Regions from separate parts of the Homo sapiens genome. Here all the other regions are linked to region 2. Evidence: promoter capture Hi-C in 16 types of primary human blood cells and fetal thymus (Javierre and others, 2016). All regions are on one chromosome and are shown on one strand. Each heading gives the region's core, a stretch centred on a gene start or on the middle of the fragment in contact. The rest is flanking DNA. Distances are from core to core; before and after follow the strand shown.

Region 1 (4,090 bases), core at 903-3,402, 290 kb before region 2:
CCTTTATCCAGCAGAGGAAAGACTTCCCCTGCCCCAGCCTCCTCCACAGGCTCATCCCAGGCATTTCACCTGGAAGGTGGTGAGCATCAAGCGTCAGCTGTCAGAGCCCTTGATTCTGATGCTGGAGCCCCCTTCCTTCCCACTTAGCGACTGCTGGCTCCCCCAGCAATCTCTCCTCCAATACTAAGAGGCTGGGACCAGTGGGACCTGTGGTAAGCCCTTCAGACGTCTGTTACCTATCATGCTATTGCTTTTACTTGCTCTTATGGCTGTGTCTCCATCAACTGCGAGCTCGAGAGAAGTGAGAGAGTGTGGTATCCTAGTAACCTGGATATCCAGGGCATCTACCACAGGGCCTGGCCCCAACAGGCCTTCAAGGTGTGATGGCAGGTTGCTGGACGAGTAGCTGACTCTTCTGAGATGCCTCTGGATTCACAGCAGCCAGCTAGGTCCAGGGGCTTTAAGGAGGCCTAAGACATGGTTCTGGTCCTTGAAAGGGATTTCTGTCTTCTAGGGGACATAGGAAATGGGTACAAATTCATAGAACATTAGAGTTTGAGGGGCCATTGCCAAGACTAAGAACTGCTACCATTTATTGTCATCCCTTGTCAGCCAGACATGTAGGTTCATTTCCACAATCTTACTCAGCCCATGCAATACGGCTATTATTAAACCAATTTTTACAGATGAGTCAACTGAGCCTTGGAAATTGACTAGCTCAAGGTCCCTCAGTGAGTAAATGTCAGAGCCCGAATTGAAAGTCAGGGCTGTCTCACTCCCAAAGGGTGCTCCTCCCTTGTTTTATAGCCAGCAGCCTGAGGCTGACTGTGCCAAGTGCCAAATGAATGTAACAACTATTCTCCTCTGAGAAGTCAGCTCTTTGAGGACAGACGGAAGCCAGCCTCCTGGGAAATGAGCCTAACAGGTATAGAAGGGGCAGCCAACACAAGAGTCCTCTGGGACCCAGAAGAGAAAAAAATTTAGGCTCAGGCTGAAAAGAAAAAAAGACGGCAGCAACAGCCAAGTTACCCTGAGGAGGGCATATTCAGGGAACATCAGAGGCTAGGCTAAGGCTAAGCTTAGGTGGTCCAGTTAGGACCTAAAGCAATGGACATTTACCATGAATCTTTCATGCCGGGGACGATGCTAGAGCAAATGTGAAGTGTTGGCTGTGGTGAATAAATGAGCAAATGAAGGCACTGGTGGTAAGTGCTGGGGTATGACAATGACTAATAGCAAAGGGTGTGAGGGAGTGAAAAAAATGCGTGCGCTGAGACAGAGGCCTGGATTTGAATCCTGGCTCTTGCCTTTATATGACCTTGGGCAAGTTCTTTATCCTTTCTGTGCCACAGTTTTCTCCTGTGCAAAATAGGGATTAAAATGGCATGTATCTTTCAGGATATCACAAGGAATATGTAAGATATTATACATCAAGTGGTTAGAACGCTGGCTGGCACATTGTAAGTACTCAGCATTTGCTGGCTTTGTAGAAAATAAGGCTTTGAGAAGCATCTAATATTGTGCCTGGTACCTACTTGGCAACCCATAAGTGGTAACTCTTACGATTAACAAGGGACAGCTCCCATCCTTAGAGTGATACTGCCTCAGGGTAATCTGTCCCTCGGTGGATTGAAGGAGCAGTGGACCCTGACCCTGCTTAGCAATAAACAACATTTTATGTAACTCAATCAAAGTACAAAGGGTCTTCATGTACTCTGCCCATTTCATGACCCATATGAGATTTAAAAAGCCACAAAAACTGTGTGGCTCCAAAAGACATTTCTGTACAAAGACCTGAGTTCAAATGGCCAACCTGCCACTAATACACTCTGTGGCTGTGAGAAGCCCCTTCCTCTCCCCAGGCTGGCTCCTGGGCCTACAGCTGAAAGGATTTGCCTGCCCAGGCTTTATGGCCCTTGCAGCTTTGATAGTCCTGCATTCTCTTTTGCAGGTCAGAGGAGAGACAGGCCTCGACCACGCAGTTTCAGTGACTCAGGCTTCATGGGAGAGTAAGAATGTGAAAAATCCATCTCTCCCTAATTGAAATCTCAAGATACATATTTCCTGTCAGTCCTGGAAAGAAATAGCAGAAAATCCATCATCCACACATAAATTGTGTCAATTCCCTTGTCCTGTACAAGTTACTTTGGGGCACAGGGCCCATCAGTCACAGATGGGACTTCCCATCTCACAGCTGTGTGACCATCAGGAGTACACTGCTGCCTTCCACCCCTGCTGTCCCTAACCATGCTGGCACATCAAAAGGCCTGTCCTGAGGCTCAGCAGGTCCCAGGCCAGGCAGGCATGAACACAAGACCCAAAGAAGGGGAGATGCTCCCCAGAACATGTTTCCTTTACAAGTCAAGACCCCTTGGAGATTTAACAACCTACAAAACAACTGCCTACAGGTAAAATAAGAGCTTCCAGGAATTCTAAAAAGGAAACACTCCTTTCACCAGCATCAAAACACTAATATCTTCTCAGGCAGATGAAACCAGGGGTCTGGAGGCCAAAGTGGAGGCGCCAGGTGTCCACTGACACCTACTACAAAGATTTTCCTTGCTTTTCTCTCAGCCACAGGGGGCTCCTGGGCCCTCCAACACTTTTTCCCACCGTGAACCTGACTCCTGATGGTCTGCTTCCTAGGCTCTGAGTACTGAAGTTTCCCCTCAGTCCCAACCACCTGCCCCAGGGAGGACCTAGAGCAGCAGACCCCCTTGCTTTGACCTAGCCCCTCCCTCCATAGCACTGACACTGGTTTGGCTGAGGCCAGCTCAGTGATGTGATCCAGAGAAACCTGGGGCTCCTACTGAAATTACAGCAAACCCAGGGGTGCAGGACAATGTGTCAGTAAAGTAACCTAGTGCCCTGGAGTTGGGCTAGAGCAATCCCAGATTACTGTGGGGTTAACTTACACTGGATAAATGCCAACTCTCTCTCCTCTTCCCCCAGGATGGGAAAGGCAGGCAGCTTGACAAGGACAAGCGTTGACCAGCAATGCTAGCAGAAAAAACCACTTTCTAGACCTGGAGGAGATACGTAGAGGCCATATTTCCTGTAGACAAGCCAACGGGAATTATTTTTGCTTCTTTTTAATGTAAACAGAATACACAATCACATTAAAAACCCCAACATGACACAGAATACACACAGAATTATATATAGATATTTACAGGCCCTCGAAAGCCAAAAGGAAAAATGGCCCCTCTGGTTAAGGGAAGCTTCTCTTCCTACCTTGTCCCTGTCCAAAATCAAAGTGCTGAGGCAGCTGAAGGAGCCTCCGCAATTACTTCTGGATATAATGTAGCAGGAGGCTGGAATAACATCAGAAACACCCCACCCCCACCCCAGAGCACAACCAAGATACCGACTTTCTGGCCCTGGCCCTAATCCTAAACTCTCCTCCTTTGCAAGCTGACAAAGCAAGGATTTGTATGTCTCGAGAGGCATCAGCATGACCCCTGAAATTCAGATGCACGGCGGAGGGGTTCCCATCCCATTCCAGCTTTCCCAGCCTTGGGCTGATTGTGAAATGAGCCAAAACCAACCATATCCAAGAGAGGAGGGTGGGGGAAGTAAAGGAAGAATGGATCTCAGGCAGAGATGACTGCTTCGGAGCAGGACCCTGGGAACCAAGGGGAGGTCAAGCTGGGCTCACCCAAGCCCAGGACAGACTGCGGAAGACACAGTGGGGCTGTGCTGCCACCTGGTGGGGGATGGGAGCACTGCAGCAATGAACTAGGACAGTCCCACAGGTACCTTCAGATCATCTTTTCTCTCCATTTCAGTCCCCTAACCAACAGCCTCACTGCAGCAGCTCTTCCCAGGAAATGGGCTTGGAGAAGACCTCCCTTTCTAACCAGAGGTCATAGTTCATCTGAAAGTCCTCAGGGAGGTCCACCCGTTGGCCCAGGACACTCTGCAGGCAGTTGTCCACTGGCAGGAAGTCAGGGTTGCTGTGGGCCCGGTCATAGCGCCGGGCGTTGAAGCGTTCAATGTTGGCACGAAGGGCACACTCCTCTGCCTGGAAGTCCCAAGGCCGGGCATCAAGATCTGAGACAAAGCAGGAAGAAACACCGTTAGGAGCCAT
Region 2 (4,043 bases), core at 884-3,383:
GAGAGGAAGGGGGCCACTTAGGACTTGCCACAGAGCTGGGACTGCAGGAAGGGTAGTCCATTGGGTGTGAGGATTGAGGGAGGACTCCCCTCCCTGCTGGAACACACGATTGGGAGCTGATGCCTTCCCTGAGATGGGAGCATGAGAGGGGAGATGGTTTGCTGAGAAATAATGAACTCAGCTTGAATTCCAAGGTGTCTGTAAGCCCTCCAGAGGGATCCTAGCACCTCTCACAGTGCCTAGCAGGCAGGAAGCCCTCAATTCTACAGGAAGTTGTGGAATGAATGAACGAATGTGGTCCCACAGCCTTTTAACCCCACAATTTCAAGGACATGCCCTTCGAGTCCTGCTTCCTTCCCCTCCAACCTAAGTCCCAGCTCCTGGTGCCTCAGCCGAACTCCCTTGCAGAAGAGCTGCTGTGGCACCCGGAGCTTTGTGCAGAAGCTTCAGTTATGGCCCCAAGTCCCCAGGTATGGGAAGCTTGGCCTCTCCCTCTTTCCTGATTTCCCTCTTCCCTCAGGGGGCTCCACAGAAGCAGATGTCCCCAATACCTGGCCCCAAGCCCCAGACCCACCAAGGCCACAAAGGCTTTATGTCTGAGGAGACACACACTGCTCCCAGGGGCACCCCTAAAGGGCACTGCAGAGGGCAAGGTGCTGGGAATGCCACTCATTGTTTCTCTGCCCCTGCCCACCTTGCCCCAGAGCCCCCCCAGGAGTCCCTGCTGTGCTCACACTGACTTGGGGAGGGTCCTATGGGAAGGACGGGCCTGGCCTGAGCTGGGCAGAAATGAGGTGTTGCCTGAGCCCCAAGCCAGGGCTGGGGTGAAATATGACTGTGGCCTTCACGGAGTTGGGGGAGGCAACGAGGGGACAGGCTGTGCTATCCCAAAAGAAGCTGAAGGGCCACAAGATGGGGACCCAGGGGAAAGAACCCCAGGACTGCTTCCCATGGGGCTGTGGCTGGGTGCTGGCCTCACAGGCACCTGATCCCTGGGCCCCAGCAGCTGGCTGTCCACTGGACTCTCCCAGGGACACACACAGCCCAGACAGGGAAGGCACCTCCCTAGGATCTGACGCATGGACTCCAGGCCATCCAGGGCAGCGTTGGTTGGGTGGTGATGGGAGAGAAGGCTGAGATATCCTGGGATAGTTCCAGGGAAGCTAAAGATGGGAGTGCTCCAGCCCTCAGACTCCACAGGACACTCCATCACAGGGCCCAGCACCGGGACCCTGCATTCTGCCCACGAGGGTCCGAGGCTCACTGGCACTCCCCCGCCCCCGCCTCCCCTCCTGCCCTGCTCCCTGGTTTCTGTTTATACCTGGCCTTGTTGGTTAGACTGTGAGTTCCCAGAGGGCAGGGGAGCCTGGCCCACTCTGAGTGCCAAGAAAGATTTTTCGATACCATGGAGTGCAGGAAGTGGGTAGGTTTATGACTAGAGATAGATGCAGGCCTCCGTTTTCCATCTTTGCTGAAGCTGGCCAGGCGTCCACCAGGGGTCTGGGCACAAGATGGGGTACAGAAGGAAAGAGAGTGGAAGAGCGAGAAAGGGCTGGTAAGGGGGCTCCTGCTGGAAGGGACAACAGTAGGGACAGAATGAGGGCCCTGCCAGAGGGAATCTCAGCGCTCCATGTAATGCCCCAGGGGCCTCAGTCCCCATCTTCTGTGACAAGATCCATGTCCTGCTCACAGGCACCACCCAGGTACACAGGATCACACACCTATGGGTGCCACCCACGCACAGGCATGGCACACACGCCAGCCCACAGCTTCCCCCAAGCCTGGAGTCCACCTCCAGCCGACCTGTGCCCTCACCACAGAACCCAGACTCTGGGCCATGTGTGCTCTCTTCTTCTGGTCCCAGCCCCGTGCCTGATGCTGACCTGTTCCCCAGAGTAGGCACCTAAAAGGCAGAGGGAAGAGGGGGCCACACCCCAAGGCTAGCAGTGGGGGAAACAGGGAAGCAGGGGCCTCTAGCTAAGCTGGGGACGCCAGTCAGCACAGACACTGCCGCAGGTCCAGGTTGATGTTGAGCGGTTAGTGACCAGGAAGCCTCCCCACCCACCAGAGTCCAAAGAGCACAGGCGTGGCTGCCTCTGTAACCTCATCAAAGGCAGGCTCTGCCTGTGGCCACTAGCAGAGAAGCTGCTGTCCTTCCACCACCAGCACCGGACCACCTGCTCCAAGACCAGCCTCCTGGGGGGACCAGGCACCCGGCCTTCACTGGCACCCAGGTAAGGGCCTGGCCCCCAGGGAAGATCGGGGCCCAGCCCAGTCACAGGGGATCTCAGGGCAGGTGGGGGCAACTCAGTGGCTTCCCAGGCCAGGTCTCCAGCCTGTTCCCAGCTGCAGCCCAGGGGATCAAGCCCAAGGAGGGGCTTGGGACTCAGCAGCTGGCTGGTGGGCTGGAAAGCAGAGCGAGGTCCAGGCTCCGGAAGGGCCTCTGGGATGCTTGCCCCAGGGTCTATGAGGTGATGGCCTTCCCTGCTCCAAACCCCTACATCTAGGGCTTAAAGGGGGGAAATGGGCTGTCACAGCTCCCCTACCCCTAAGGGGCAAGGCAGGCCAAGCCAGCTCCCTCTTCCCTCCCTGGGGTAGGGAATCTTTGGCTGCAGCTGTTTCCCCACCTTGACCTACCTACCTAGAGGGCCCCACAGGGCCCACCCTGGTGTTGAGGGAGTGGGGAGTGGGGCTGACCAGGGGCAGACCTCACTTCCTCTTCTGCATGGAGAGCATGGAGAAGCAGGAAGTGTTACAATGGGGGTTGGGGGAGGCTGGGGAAGGGGAACAGGCTTCTAGCCCCGCCTTACCCCTGGAGAGAAAAGGGGTCCTCCCAAACAAGGAAACCAGAGATCCAGCCGTCCCTTCCACATTCCCTTAATTGTTCACTGGCAGTTTATTTCCTTCCACACTGAGTCATCTTATCAGATCCTACGTCATTTTCACAACAGTCCTAATAAACAAGGGTATGGGTTGCTCTCTCACATGTTACCCGGGGTAGTCCAGTATTTCTGCACAACTGAGGTGTACCATGTAGACATGTGGATACCCACAAACCTCATTTGGATAACACATACCCTTGACCCGCACAGACTAACACCACCCCCACCCGGGACACACACACCACATTTAATTCCACTCCATTTCAACATGTATGTTCTCTAGACTCCCTCTGTGACTGCGCACAGCCCAGCGGCAGAGGCATGTTTATAAACCATTAAAACACGAAGCTTGCAATCGGACAGATCTGGGTTGCTCTCTATTAAACGTTCATTTGTGACCTCAGGCCTGTTACCGTCTTTGAGCCTCAGAGTCCTCATATGGTAAATGGGGACAATACCAGTACCTGCCTTGTGAGGTTGTTTTGAGGATTAGAGTGACTGAAGGTAACGCCGTTAGAACAGTGCTAGGCACGTGGCGCCAAGTAAGTACAAGTGGACGGCAGTGAGGAGAAACTGATAGGATGTTGGTAAGGGGCTCAGCACCAGGCTCACAGCACCGTGGTGGCTATTGTGACTATTGTTGCTGGAGATAAATGTACAAGGTCCAGTGCAGCATTAGGAGGGTACCCTGGGCAGGGTGGGGTTGGATGGTCCAGGAGGGCTTCACCAAGAGGGTGATCTTTGAGCTAGAATTTAAAGGGTTGGGGTCAGGAGGGGACCTGGGCAGAGGATACAGAGTACAAAAAGCAAAGAGCCAGGAGGCCTAGGGAGACACTTGGGGGAGGTCAGCTCACTGGCGAGTCCTGCAGTGCCACCATAAGTACACACACACATGCATGCAGTCTTCCCAGAGGGTCTACAGCTGAAGAGCCAGCATCAGCGTCCTCTCAGTTTGCAGAACTGAAACAGGGTCGAACAAGAGGGCCTCCTCTGGCGGGGTCGGCTACAGAACCCTCTGCTCATCCAGCATCTTTCATACCCAGGCCCAAGATAGGATCTGAACGCAGGTCCCTGTCCATCCAGGTTTCCTGGGCTCCTTGGCATGAGCTTTATCAGCCAAACCATGGGAGGCCTGGAGCCTTCCCTGAGGCCCAGCCATGC
Region 3 (3,701 bases), core at 942-3,441, 290 kb after region 2:
ACTAGCAACATATAGGCAACATAGCAAGACCCTCCCCTACAGAAACTACAAACAAAAAATTAGCTGGGCATGGTGGTGCCTGCTAATAGTCCCAGTTACTCAGGAGGCTGATGGGGAGGAATCACTTGAGCCCAGGAGTTCAAGGCTGCAGTGAGCTATGATCATGCCACTGCACTCCAGGCTGGGCAACAGAACAAGACCCCCATCTCAAAAAAAAAAAAAAAAAAAAAAAGTAAAGAAAAAGAAAGTAGGTACTCAAAACTTGGGGGCAGTGAACGGTCAGTTATGGAGCCTTCTCTTCACCAGCACTCTCCTGAAAGGCACTCCTGAGCATCTACAGAAAGATAAAATTTAAGAGCATGTACTATGCCTAGCATGTACAGTGCCTACTATGCATGGTTCCAGGCACTATTATCTAGTAGTGAACAAAAGAGAAAAAAGGCCAAGCATGGTGGTTCATGCCTGTAATCCCAGCACTCTGGGAGGCTGAGGTGGGAGGATCACTTGAGCCCAGGAGTTTGAGACTAGCCAACTTTTTATTTAGCCAAGAAAAATTAGCCAGGTGTGGTGATGCACATCTGTGGTCCCAGCTACTCTGGGGGCTGATGTGGGAAGATCTCTTGAGCCCAGGAGGTCAAAGCTACATGATCACACCACTGGACACCAGCCTGGGTGACAGAGCGAGACCCTATCTCAAAAAAAGAAAAAGAATAACAAAATCTCTGTCCTCATGGGGCTCATACTCTAGAGCTGCACTATCCAAAACAGTAGCCCCTAGCCAAGCTTGATTATTTAAGTTTAAGTTAATCAGAATTAAATTAAATAAAAAATTCAAGCCGGGTGCAGTGTCTCAGACCTGTAATCCCAACACTTTGGGAAGCAAGGTGGGAGGATCACTTGAGGCCAGGAGTTCAAGACCAGCCTGGGTATCATAGCAAGACTCCATCTCTACCAAAAAAAAAAAGTAGTCGGGCATGGTGGTACATGCCTGTAGTCCCAGCTGCTGAAGTGTGTGGATCACTTGAGCCCAGGGGTTCAAGGCTGCAATGAGCTATGATCACGCCACTGCACTCCAGCCTGGATGACAGAGTGAGACTGGATCAAACAACAACAAAAAAGTTCAGGCCGGGTGTGGTGGCTCATGCCTGTAATCCCAGCACTTTAGGAGGCCAAGGCGGGCAAATCACTTGAGGTCAGGGGTTCGAGACCAGCCTGGCCAACATGGCAAAATGCCGTCTCTACTAAAAAAAAAAAAATTCAGTTCAGTCACGCTAGGCACATTTCAAGTGCCCAATAGCCTCATGTGACTAGCAGGTACTATCTTAGAGAGCACCGATTCTAAAACTTTTCCATTATTACCAAAAGTTCTGCTGTGTCTAAACGACGGTCCTGAGGTTCTGACAATCCTGAATCATGCTTTCGGATTCCTCAGAGGGCAAAATACACCCACAATAACTTTAGTATTTATTGTATTCTGATTCTTTTCAAGTCAGGGATCTTACACGATGATTTTTTATTTACCAAAATATATGTTTAAATCTGAACACTATACAGTCGGATGGTACCAGAGCAAAATGAGAACATCTGAGGGGAATCACAGGTTCACAGAACAGCAGAACAAAAGGGACCTCAAAGATTCTCACACCCAATCATCTCATGTCACAGAGGGGGACTGTGAAGCCCCAAAAGATTAAGTCACTTTCCCAAAGTCACATTTAGTTAATGTGAGAGCCAGGCTTAGAATTCACATCTCCTGATTCCCTGTCCAGTGCTCTTTCCATTTCATTTGCTCATTAACTCAACACTGATTGAGCATCTACCTTGTGCCAGGTGCTGGAGATATGAAGACGAATAACACCTATCTCCTGCTCTTGAGAATTCACATCAAGAAAGGAGCGTCATAGCAAAACAAACAAACAAAAAATAATAAAAACAAACACTGCATCCCAGAGTTATTGAGGCTAAAGAAGAGATCTCTACCATGTGCATTGAGGATTACAAGGAGGGAAGGAGTAGCTCTGTGCCTTGGGGTGCAGAAGCTCAGAAAGACACTTTCTCCCAACCCCCTCCATGTCTCCTAACCCTCCATCTTTCCACTCCAGATTTGCTTTCTTCCCTAACTTTGCCAAGTGACTGAGACACAGAGAAGAGAAGGAAAGAACTAAAATCACCCCTGTCACCAAGCACAAGGCTCTGAGATGAGCAAACTGGTTATAAAGAGCAGCCAAGGAGAGGTAGAGGACCTGAGACAAGGGGGAGTTCTAGCATTCTGGTGCCAACCAGCCTTTCTCCTCTTGGACCTCCATTGCTGGGACAGCGACGGTCATTTTCTGCCCTCCGCCTCCTCTTGCTTCTGCATCTCTTTTGCAACCTTAAACCTTTCCAGTTTAAGGATGAGGCTCCCCTTTGGCACTGACATGCTCGCTGGTGATAATCCTGTGACAGTCCTGAGGACACTAACATCACCAGTTAGCTCAGAGCACAAGGAAGACAAATTCTCTCCCCAGGTCCTACTCCCACGCTTATCTCATTGTTTTTTGTTTTGTTTAGGCGAGGTAACAGGCTCATGCCTGTAATCTCAGCACTTTTGGAGGCTGAGGTGGGAATATCACCTGAGCCCAGGAACTCAAAGCCAGCTGGGGCAGCATAGCAAGACCCGATTTTTACAAAAATTTTTTACAACTTAGCTAGGCATGGTGGCATGTGCCTTTGGTCCCAGATACTTGAAAGGCTGAGGTGGGAGGATTGCCTGAGCTTGGAAATTTAGGCTGCAGTGAGATGTGTTCGTACCACTGCACTCCAGCCTCAGCGATAGAGCCAGTCTCTATCTTAGAGCCTGTCTGAAAAAAAAAAAAGATTTGATATTTACTCACTCAAGGTTCCAGAGCTAGAAAGCAAGAAAGCAGAGGGGACTCAATTTAAACCGAAGCCTATCTGACCTCAAAAATCTGTCTCTATCTTCCTTTTTCTTTTGTTTTATTTTCCTTTTTTTTTTTTTTTTTTTTTTTTTGAGACAAGGTCTAGTTCTGTCACTCAGGCTGGAGTGCGCAGCTCATTGCAGCCTCGACCTCCTGGGCTCAATGATCCTCCAGCCTCAGCCTCCCAAGGAGCTGGGACCACAAGCATGTGTCATCACACCCAACTAATTTTATTTTTTAATAGAGACGCGACCTCCCCTTATTGCCCAGGCTTGTGTCAAACTCCTGGGCTCAAGCAATCCTCCCACCTCAGCCTCCCAAAGTGTGTCTTTTTCTTAAAAAGAAAATTTTTTTTAAGATACTTCTTTTCTTTTCTTTTTTATCTTGAACTCCTATGATTTGATGTCCTTTTCTTTTTTAAAAAAAAACTAGTTCTCCAATAATTGGTCTATGTCCAGGTTATTTTTGCTAGCTTAGTATAGACTTAGTGAGACTCCAGAATTGGAATTGAGGTGAGATTAGTTGATTTCTCAATTAAAAAAAAAAAAACTCTAAGATAAGCTCCTGACAAATAAAAGAATAACATTACTTTCTTTTCACAAAGATTCCAGTAAAATCTTTGCTTTTTGGTAATAATGACAACAAAAGTTCTCAATTACCATTACAATAACTGCAAGCTTTGTGTTTTCTTTTTTCCTTCTCCAATCAGGAGCATTTGATCCCTCCAAACAGGAAATGAGTGAAAAACTCAAATGACATTTCCACTGTCATTTCTGGTGCTAA

Evidence for each region. The method cuts DNA at HindIII sites, captures the fragments that hold promoters and counts their contacts. A CHiCAGO score of 5 or more calls a contact.
Region 1: a contact is called between a fragment that was not itself captured here and the fragment with the promoter of EPS8L3 in region 2, in 2 of 17 cell types (M0 macrophages and M1 macrophages). The highest score is 5.4, in M0 macrophages.
Region 3: a fragment that was not itself captured here is called in contact with the fragment with the promoter of EPS8L3 in region 2 in 1 of 17 cell types (M2 macrophages); the score reaches 6.7 in M2 macrophages.

What each region holds. Positions count from the first base shown.
Region 1 is chr1:110,053,628-110,057,717 of GRCh38, reverse strand. It overlaps STRIP1 (striatin interacting protein 1), which reads right to left. Exons shown (of 21, transcript NM_033088.4): 21 at 3,077-4,053. The coding sequence ends at 3,806. Among named protein-coding and RNA genes, the nearest start is that of ALX3, 15 kb to the left of the region's middle. The HindIII fragment of the contact is 2,143 bases long and covers 1,081-3,223 here.
Region 2 is chr1:109,762,013-109,766,055 of GRCh38, reverse strand. It overlaps EPS8L3 (EPS8 signaling adaptor L3), which reads left to right and starts at 2,133. Exons shown (of 19, transcript NM_133181.4): 1 at 2,133-2,234. The region is part of intron 1 of LOC124904258 (a long non-coding RNA gene); the gene reads right to left. The HindIII fragment of the contact is 2,750 bases long and covers 483-3,232 here.
Region 3 is chr1:109,469,137-109,472,837 of GRCh38, reverse strand. All of the region lies in intron 2 of SYPL2 (synaptophysin like 2), which reads right to left. Among named protein-coding and RNA genes, the nearest start is that of SYPL2, 4.4 kb to the right of the region's middle. The HindIII fragment of the contact is 2,812 bases long and covers 786-3,597 here.